3 separate regions of the Homo sapiens genome follow, and regions 2 and 3 are each linked to region 1. Evidence: promoter capture Hi-C in 16 types of primary human blood cells and fetal thymus (Javierre and others, 2016). All regions are on one chromosome and are shown on one strand. Each heading gives the region's core, a stretch centred on a gene start or on the middle of the fragment in contact. The rest is flanking DNA. Distances are from core to core; before and after follow the strand shown. Region 1 holds the start of SDR42E2 (short chain dehydrogenase/reductase family 42E, member 2). Region 2 overlaps UQCRC2 (ubiquinol-cytochrome c reductase core protein 2). Region 3 overlaps UQCRC2 (ubiquinol-cytochrome c reductase core protein 2).

Region 1 (2,700 bases), core at 113-2,612:
TGTTTTTTTGCTGGTGGTGGTCACAGGGCAGGGACTCTGGCAGCTAGAGGGGCTGTATTTTTAATTTCCTCTGTTACTGCCCTGCTCACCAAATGTCTGGGTGAGGAATACAGTCCTGCCCCGTATAAGCACGAACACTCATGGCTTTATTTATTTATTTAGAGAAGGAGTCTCACTCTGTTGCTCAGGCTGGAGTGCAGTGGTGTGATCTTGGCTCACTGCAACCTCCGCCTGCCTTGTTCAAGCAATTCTCCTCCCTCAGCCTCCCGAGTAGCTGGGACTACAGGCACGCGCCACCACACCTGGTTAATTTTTGTATTTTTAGTAGAGACGGGGGTTTCACCATTTTGGCCAGGCTGGTCTCAAACTCCTGGTCTCAAGTGATCTGCCACCCTCAGCCTCCCAAAGTGCTGGGATTACAGGCGTGAGCCACTGCGCCCAGCCCACTCATGGATTTAATGAGAGAGACTGCAAACCATCATGAGCAGGGGCCTAAATCCCCGAGAGGGAGAGGAGAGGATGCAGCCCCACAGCGAGCCCTCCTCCTGTACTCAGGCCCAGAGGACTCTGTTCTGGGGAAGGGTCTATGGGACCAGAGCTGACTTTCTACCCTAAGAGGATGCCTTTTGTGGCAAAGGCTGGACTCAGCCTTGGATACTCACTTATTGGGGTGTGCCCTTGGGTAAGGGCCTTAAAACCTCACTGTACCTTAGTACCCACAACCGCGAATGGACCCAAATATTTCTGGCTGCTCTGGCTCCTCACAGGGTGGTCATGAGAAAACAGACGCCAGAATGCCTTGCGAGGCTAGATTGCAAAGCTCCAGGAGGATTTCATTCCCTGGAGTGTCCCAGCACCTAGAACAGTGCCTGGCGCAAAGCAGGCGGCCAGCAAATGCTGCTGGGTGAACAAAATCTCTGGGGCGTGTTCGGGATCTGGCTGTGCTATGGTCGCGCGCCAGACCCACCCTGGACATGGCTTCACTCATTCTTTTGGAAGTTCAGTGAAGTACAGGCTATGGTTCCCATTACCCAGAGGTGGAAACTGAGGCCCAGAGAACATGAGGAAACTTTGATGGAGTCACAGACAGTGTCTCCGCCGGAATCCAGGTCGATGGGGACCCCAAAAGCGGGTTTGGTGGAAGGAACTGGCAAAAGGGTGGGGAGCATCAGGGACTGACCCTGAGAGCGCTGGGCTCGCGGGCAGCTCCAGGGTGGGGGTCCCCTCCCCTCTTGGCTCCCTCACCCTCCCTGTCCCTCCAGCACCTGCGTCCCTCCCTGGCCCGCGTCCGGGCTTCGCTCACCTGGCCCGGGCTCCCGCGGCGCTGCGTGCTCCCCGCGCTGCGCCAGTCTCCGCGCCGCCAGGGCCACCGGGCCACCTCCTTCTCCCGAGGAGGGCAGAAAGGGGCGGGGCGGGGCGGGACGAGGCATCCGGACCGCCCCCCGCCCGCTCTTCTGCCCGCCCACTCCCGGCGCGGGAGCACCTGCATTCTCTCAGGTGGAGACCCGCGGGCTCTCATAGAGGGGAAACTGAAGCCAGTAGGGCTGGGATGGGCGAAATGGTCCACGCTTCTTGTGGGAAAAGACGCAAAGGCCCTGCGTGCCGGGCTCTGTCCTGCAGGCCAAGTCGTCCTAGAACCCCAAGAAAAAGGGTTTCATCTATATGTAGGAGCAGAATTGCTGGGTCATATGATTACTCTGTGTTTAGAGAAGAACCGCCAAACTGTTTTCTAAAGTAGCTGTACCATTTTACAATCCTACCAGCAGTGTATAGGGTTCCAATACTTCCGCATCCTTACCAACACTTATTATTATATCTATGTTTAAAATTTTAACTATTCTACTGGGTGTGAAGTGGTGTCTCATTGTGGTTTCATTTGAATTTCCTGATAGCTAATGCTGCTGAACATGTTTTCATGTGCTCATTGGCACATTAATGTGTTTTCTTTGGAGAAGTGTCTGTTCAAATCCTTTGCTCATTTTCAGTTGAGTTATTTGTTGACTTTTAAGAGTTCTTTGTATATTCTGGATACAAATCCTTCATCAGATAAATGATTTGCAAATATTTAAACAAAAACAAAAAACCAAAAAAGTTCTTCCATCATCCATCCTTCCACCTATCCATCCATCCTTCCATCCATCCATCCTTCCACCTATCCATCCAACCTTCCATCCATCCATCCTTCCACCTATCCATCCAACCTTCCATCCATCCAGCCTTCCACCTATCCATCCAGCCTTCCACCTATCCATCTAACCTTCCATCATCCATCCTTCCACTTATCCATCCAATCTTCTCCCTGACCATCCTTCTGCTTATCCATCCAACCTTCCATCCATCTGTACTTCTACCTGTCCATCCAGCTTTCCATCCATCTTTATTTCAACCTGTCCTTTCCATCCATCTGTATTTCAACCTATCCATACAACCTGTCATCCATCCATTCTTAAACCTGTCCATCCAACCTTCCATCATCTATCCTTCCACCTATCCATCCAAATTTCCATCCATCCAACCTTCCACCCATCTAATTCATTACATATATCTTTCTTTCCTTGCTTCTACCCATCTATCTACTCTCCCTGTCTTGCAATCTTCCACTTATCTCTGTTGATTTATGCATCAATCACATCATTCTATTTTGATGGGTGCTTCTTCAGTGCTGGATCATATCATCCTTTGAAAACTCATGTTCAGCTG
Region 2 (2,700 bases), core at 68-2,567, 180 kb after region 1:
ATCATCAAGCAGGCGAACTTATTTTGTCATTTCAAGAATTTATGGATAGGACATTCTTTTTTTTTTTTTTTTTTTTGAGGTGGAGTCTCGCTCTGTCACCCAGTGTGGAGTGCAGTGCTGCGATCTTGGCTCACTGCAGCCTCCGCCTCCCAGGTTCAAGCAATTCTCTGCCTCACCCTCCCAAGGAGCTGGGATTACAGGCATGTATCACTATGCCCAGCTAATTTTTGTATTTTTAGTAGAGACGGGATTTCGCCATGTTGGCCAGGCTGGTCTCAAACTCCTAGCCTCAAGTGATCCACTCACCTTAACCTCCCAAAGTGCTGGGATTACAGGCGTGAGCCACCAACCTGGCCTTCGATAGGACATTCTAAGCCAGCAATTACTATAATAGCTGTTGTGAAAATTAACTAGGAGATGGCTGGTGCTTTAATTTGGGACAGTGTGGGAGGAAAAGCTTAGCTGTTTCTCTGAAAGTCCCATTGTATGTGTAATGAACCAAGCAAGAGCAACACTGGTAAGAGGGTAGCTGTTCAAAGAGAGATAAGGAAAACAACACTGACACTGTCAAATAGAGTAGTGTGGCTTCAGGCAGGGATATACTTTCCTGTTTCGGTATTACAATGGCAAATAGTCTGGGTCAATAAAAATACATTGATTGTTAACTTAAAAGTAAAACTTGATACCCTAGAGGATTCTTTATGCCACTACTTCCAAGTTCAAAGGCTGGTTAAGTGTAGTATCATGAGTCAGGTGTAGGTGGAGCAGCAGCCCCCATATTCTGTCAGGCCAGCTTATCTTATTACTATGAAGGAGAGGTGGTGGTGGAAGCAGTCGGGTTGGGACGCACATAATGATAGGATATAAGATGAAGACAGCCATTTAAAAGAGTACCAAATGGGCTGGGCGCGTTGATTCACACCTGTAATCCCAGCACTTTGGAAGGCTGAGGCGGGTGGATCACGAGGTCAGGAGATCGAGACCATCCTGGCTAACATGGTAAAACCCCGTCTCTACTAAAAATACAAAAAATTAGCCGGCCGTGGTGGTGGGCACCTGTAGTCCCAGTTACTAGGAAGGCTGAGGCAGGAAAATGGCGTGAACCCGGGAGGCGGAGGTTGTACTGAGCCGAGATCGCGCCACTGCACTCCAGCCTGGGCAACAGAGCAAGACTCCGTCTCAAAAAAAAAAAAAAGAAGAGTATGAAATGACGATTGGGGCGAAGTGAAATCAAGTCAGGGTTACTATCTTAAAATAGCCTTGTCTCTTTTTTATTTGAGACAGGGTCTCACTCTGTTGCCCAGCCTGGAGTACAGTGGCATGATCTCGGCTCGCTGCAACCTCTGCCTCCCAGGCTCAAGCCACCTTCCCACCTCAGCCCCATGAGCTCCTGAGTAGCTGGGACTACAGGCGCATGCCACCAAGCCTAGCTAATTTTTGTACTTTTTTGTAGAGATGGGGTTTTGCTACATTGCCCAGTCTGGTATTGAACTCCTGGGCTCAAGCAATCTGCCCACCTCAGCCTTCCAAAGTGCTGGGATTACAGGAATGAGCCACTGCACCCAGCTTAGTTTTTTATTTTTTCTTATCCCCACTGTCCCTATACAAGGTAGACCTGTTGGTGAGAAGATGGCCGAGACATCTACAGTAGAAAGCAAGTTGGCAAGTTTAATGTAGAAAATGGGGAAAACCCACTTACTTTGGATTAATTCTGTAGGTCATGTGCTTGTTAGGCACAGCAGGGAACACAAAGAAGTACATGACATAGTCCTTGCCCTCAAAACAGCTCAATATTGTAGGGAACAATAATATATGTGAAAAAAAAATTAGCAAGAACAAGAGAATGTCCTAGGCTGAGAAGAGTAAAGAAAATCTTAAGATGCTAGATGGTGAAATATTGCTAGGACTGAAGAGGAAAAATAGCAAACTTCACTATTTAGGTTGGATCATATGAAACTGCTAATATTTGACTCTTCTTTACTTCTAGTCATCTAACATAAGCCCATTTTATAAACTACCATTAGTTTAACCTAACGTTTGATACGTTAGGTGTATTAAATGCACTTTTGACTGCCATCTCAGTGGATGGCAGCCCTCTTACTGACATCACAGTTTAACCTAATGGTAGTTTATTTGAAGGAGGAAGATACATATACTCGAGCTGACAGGGAAGCTTGTTGCGGATCTTATGGGAATGAGCCCTCCTGCCTCCACATTAAGTAGATGAGCACCAAACATAAGAATAATACACTGCCCAAGGACGCTTATGCATCCTTCTGAAATTGGATCATTAAGGTTAAGTTCTCTGTTGTTAAATCGTTAAGTTTTCATTTACTTACATTTATGATATCAGCATTAGCCACTGAATCAATCTGCTGAAGGACTGTGGATGGTGGCATGTAAGAACCAGCAACTAGAGCCTGGGACCCGACTTCTTCCAGGAAACACTCAGAAGACTCCACTGACATTAGGTATCCAGCTTTCAGCTTGTTCCTGTCCAATAAAAGGCAGAAGTCAGTTTTAGAGAGCAAGGCAATTATTTTTTTTTTCTGAGTGGTGGCGGGGGGCTGTGAACATCAAAGCTTTATTTAATGGATAGAGTAACAGCGTGTCTCCCTCTTCCTGAATTCCCCAAGAAGAATGCCACTCCCTTCTCTGGAACATACTAAAACAGTAAGTCTGAAGGGAAGAAGTCTCTTC
Region 3 (2,700 bases), core at 112-2,611, 200 kb after region 1:
GATTCTGAAAGGCCACAGCTTTGTCAATCTTTAGCTGAGGCTGAAGGTCAGCTACTTCCCAACGACGAAATTCTGGTGCTGTGGTGACATTGAGCAGGAACTCCATTAGAATATCACTACAGAAGACATCGAGATAAGAATTATGAGTCAAAAATGTAAAGCCAACATTTGAGATTCTACATAGCTGTAATGCTCTCAATGTGAAACTTTAGGTCTTGTGGTAAGCAGTGTTTTTGAGCAGTTTATGAACAATAATCCAAAATGGAAGTCAGAGGTCATAATGACGCATTACAAAGACCAGAAGTGAGCAGCTTAGTATTTCTTTCAAAGCAGAAGTCCTAAACACACACAGGTACTTACACATCACCCCGCAGGCATTCCACAGTATAAGCCATGTTTTCCCTTGTTGCGGTCACACTGAATCGGAAAATAAACTAGAGTAAATCATCTGAATCAGGATAGTAAGCTTTCCCTTATAATCTTCTATCAACCAATTCCTTTGGAAAGAAAATTTCTGAAGTATAAAAGGTGCGAACAATAATATAACAAAACTCCACATATTAACCAACTAAAATTCAAAATTTTTTTAAAAACCAGCAAATAATTCAACCTTAAAAGGAGTGAAATCTGGTCACATGTTACAACACAGATGAACCCTGAGGACATTATGCTAAGGATAATAAGCCAGTCACAAAGGGACAAATATTGTATGATTCTACTTATGAGGTACCTGGAGTAGTCAAATTTGTAGAGACTGAAAAGAGAATGGCAGTTGCCAAAGGCTGAGGGGAGGGGAGAATGAGCAGCCATTGTTTAACAGGTACAGAATTTCAGGTGGGAGAAGATAGAAAAGTTCCGGAGCTGAATGTTGGTGATGGTTGCTGAATGCCACTTAACTGCACACTTAAGAAAATGATAAATTTGGGCCGGGCGCAGTGGCTCACACCTGTAATCCCAGCACTTTGGGAGGCCGAGGTGGGCGGATCACTTGAGGTCAGGAGTTTGAGACCAGCCTGGCCAACAGGGTGAAACCATGGTCTCTACTGAAAATACAAAAATTAGCCAAGCATGGTGGCGCACGCCTGTAATCCCAGCTACCACGGAGGCTGAGGCAGGAGAATCGCTTGAACCCAAGAGGCGGAGGTTACAGTGAGCCAAGATCATGCCACTGCACTCCAGCCTGGGCGACACAGCGAGACTGTCTAAAATATATATATATATATATATATATATATATATATATATATATAAATTTTATGTTATATACATTTGACCACAATTTTTTAAAATGGCAAATAAAGTTGAAGATCTTTTCGTACCCTTCCAAGACCAATTCCCTCACTCTCTCCCACTCTGGAAACCACAATCATAAGCACTACATAGTATTTTTCTGCTTAAAAAATTAAAATACCTTAAAGAAATCTTGAAACTTGCTTGTTCACACTCTATTTTGCCCTTCAGTTGTGCTATGTTGACGTATGGATCTAGTTCATTCCGTAATGGCTGTATAGTGGTCTCATCATGACTCTGTCATACTTTACCCATTTCCCTAAAGATGGACACTTAGATCGTTTCCAGTCTTTATAAAGAATACCTTTGTGAATGTGATTAAAAACTGTGGGGTTTTTCAATATTACCAGATATTCCTTGATTCTTTCCTAAGTGGTTGTATCAATTTATACTCCTATCAGCAGAATGAGACATTCTCTATCATCTTTACCACTGACAACACAATATATAAAAAATCTGGGCTGGGTGCAGTGGCTCACATCTGCAATCCCAGCATGCTGGGCTGAGGTGAGAGGATCACCTGAGGCCAGGAGTTCAAGACCAGTCTGGGCAACATAGTGAGACCTCCATTTGTACAAAAAATAAAAAATTAGCCAGGCATGGAGTCATGTGCCTATAGTCCTAGCTACTTGGGAAGCGGAGGGAGAAGAATCGCTTGGGCCCAGGAGTTCAAGGCTGCAATAAGGTATGTCTGCACCACTCCACTCCAGCCTGGGAAACAGAGCAAGACCCTGTCTTTAATATAAATTAATTAAAAAAAAAGAAATGCTGTTTCTGTCCTGAGTGTTCCACTGACCAGCTGCTCCCCAAGTCTTTCTCCCTCTCTTTGGATATTCCTACTCCTGAGACACAACAATATTGAAATTAAGCTAATGAATAACCCGACAATGGCCCCTAAGTATACAAGTGAAAGGAAGAGTCTCATGTCTCTCACTTTAAATCAGAAGCTAGAAAGGATTAAGCTTCTAAGGAAGTCAGGAAGGCATGTTAAAAACGGATACAGGTCAAAAGCTAGGCCTCTTGCACCAGTGCAGTTCTTGAAGAAAACTAATAGTGCTACTCCACTGAACACATAAATGATATGAAAGCAAGACAGACTTATTGCTGATAATACAGAGTTTTACTGGTCTGGATTAGATCAAACTGTATTCCCTTAAGTCAAAGCTTAATCCAGAGCAATGCCCTAACTCTCTTCAATTATATGAAGGCTGAGAGAGGTGAGATGCAGAAGAAAAGTCTGAAGCTAGCCGTGGTTAGTTCATGAGCTTTAAGGAAAGAAGCCATCTTCTTAATATAATAGTACACAGTGAAGCAGCAAATGCTAATATAGAAGCTGCAGCACGTTATCCAGAAGATCTACATAAGATCATCGATGAAGGTGGCTACACTAAACCACAGATTTTCAATGCT

What was found. The method cuts DNA at HindIII sites, captures the fragments that hold promoters and counts their contacts. A CHiCAGO score of 5 or more calls a contact.
Region 2: a fragment that was not itself captured here is called in contact with the fragment with the promoter of SDR42E2 in region 1 in 7 of 17 cell types (total CD4 T cells, non-activated CD4 T cells, M0 macrophages and 4 more); the score reaches 8.0 in total CD4 T cells.
Region 3: a fragment that was not itself captured here is called in contact with the fragment with the promoter of SDR42E2 in region 1 in 2 of 17 cell types (megakaryocytes and naive CD4 T cells); the score reaches 5.3 in megakaryocytes.

Annotation. Positions count from the first base shown.
Region 1 is chr16:22,161,168-22,163,867 of GRCh38, reverse strand. It overlaps SDR42E2 (short chain dehydrogenase/reductase family 42E, member 2), which reads right to left and starts at 1,362. Exons shown (of 13, transcript NM_001394319.2): 1 at 1,304-1,362. The HindIII fragment of the contact is 17,104 bases long and covers 1-2,700 here.
Region 2 is chr16:21,980,340-21,983,039 of GRCh38, reverse strand. It overlaps UQCRC2 (ubiquinol-cytochrome c reductase core protein 2), which reads right to left. Exons shown (of 14, transcript NM_003366.4): 13 at 2,340-2,493. It also overlaps a transcript of PDZD9 not described here and the pseudogene LOC100420644. Among named protein-coding and RNA genes, the nearest start is that of PDZD9, 19 kb to the left of the region's middle. The HindIII fragment of the contact is 1,716 bases long and covers 460-2,175 here.
Region 3 is chr16:21,960,177-21,962,876 of GRCh38, reverse strand. UQCRC2 (ubiquinol-cytochrome c reductase core protein 2) reads right to left here. Exons shown (of 14, transcript NM_003366.4): 5 at 361-417; 6 at 1-116. It also overlaps a transcript of PDZD9 not described here. Among named protein-coding and RNA genes, the nearest start is that of UQCRC2, 8.2 kb to the right of the region's middle. The HindIII fragment of the contact is 1,786 bases long and covers 469-2,254 here.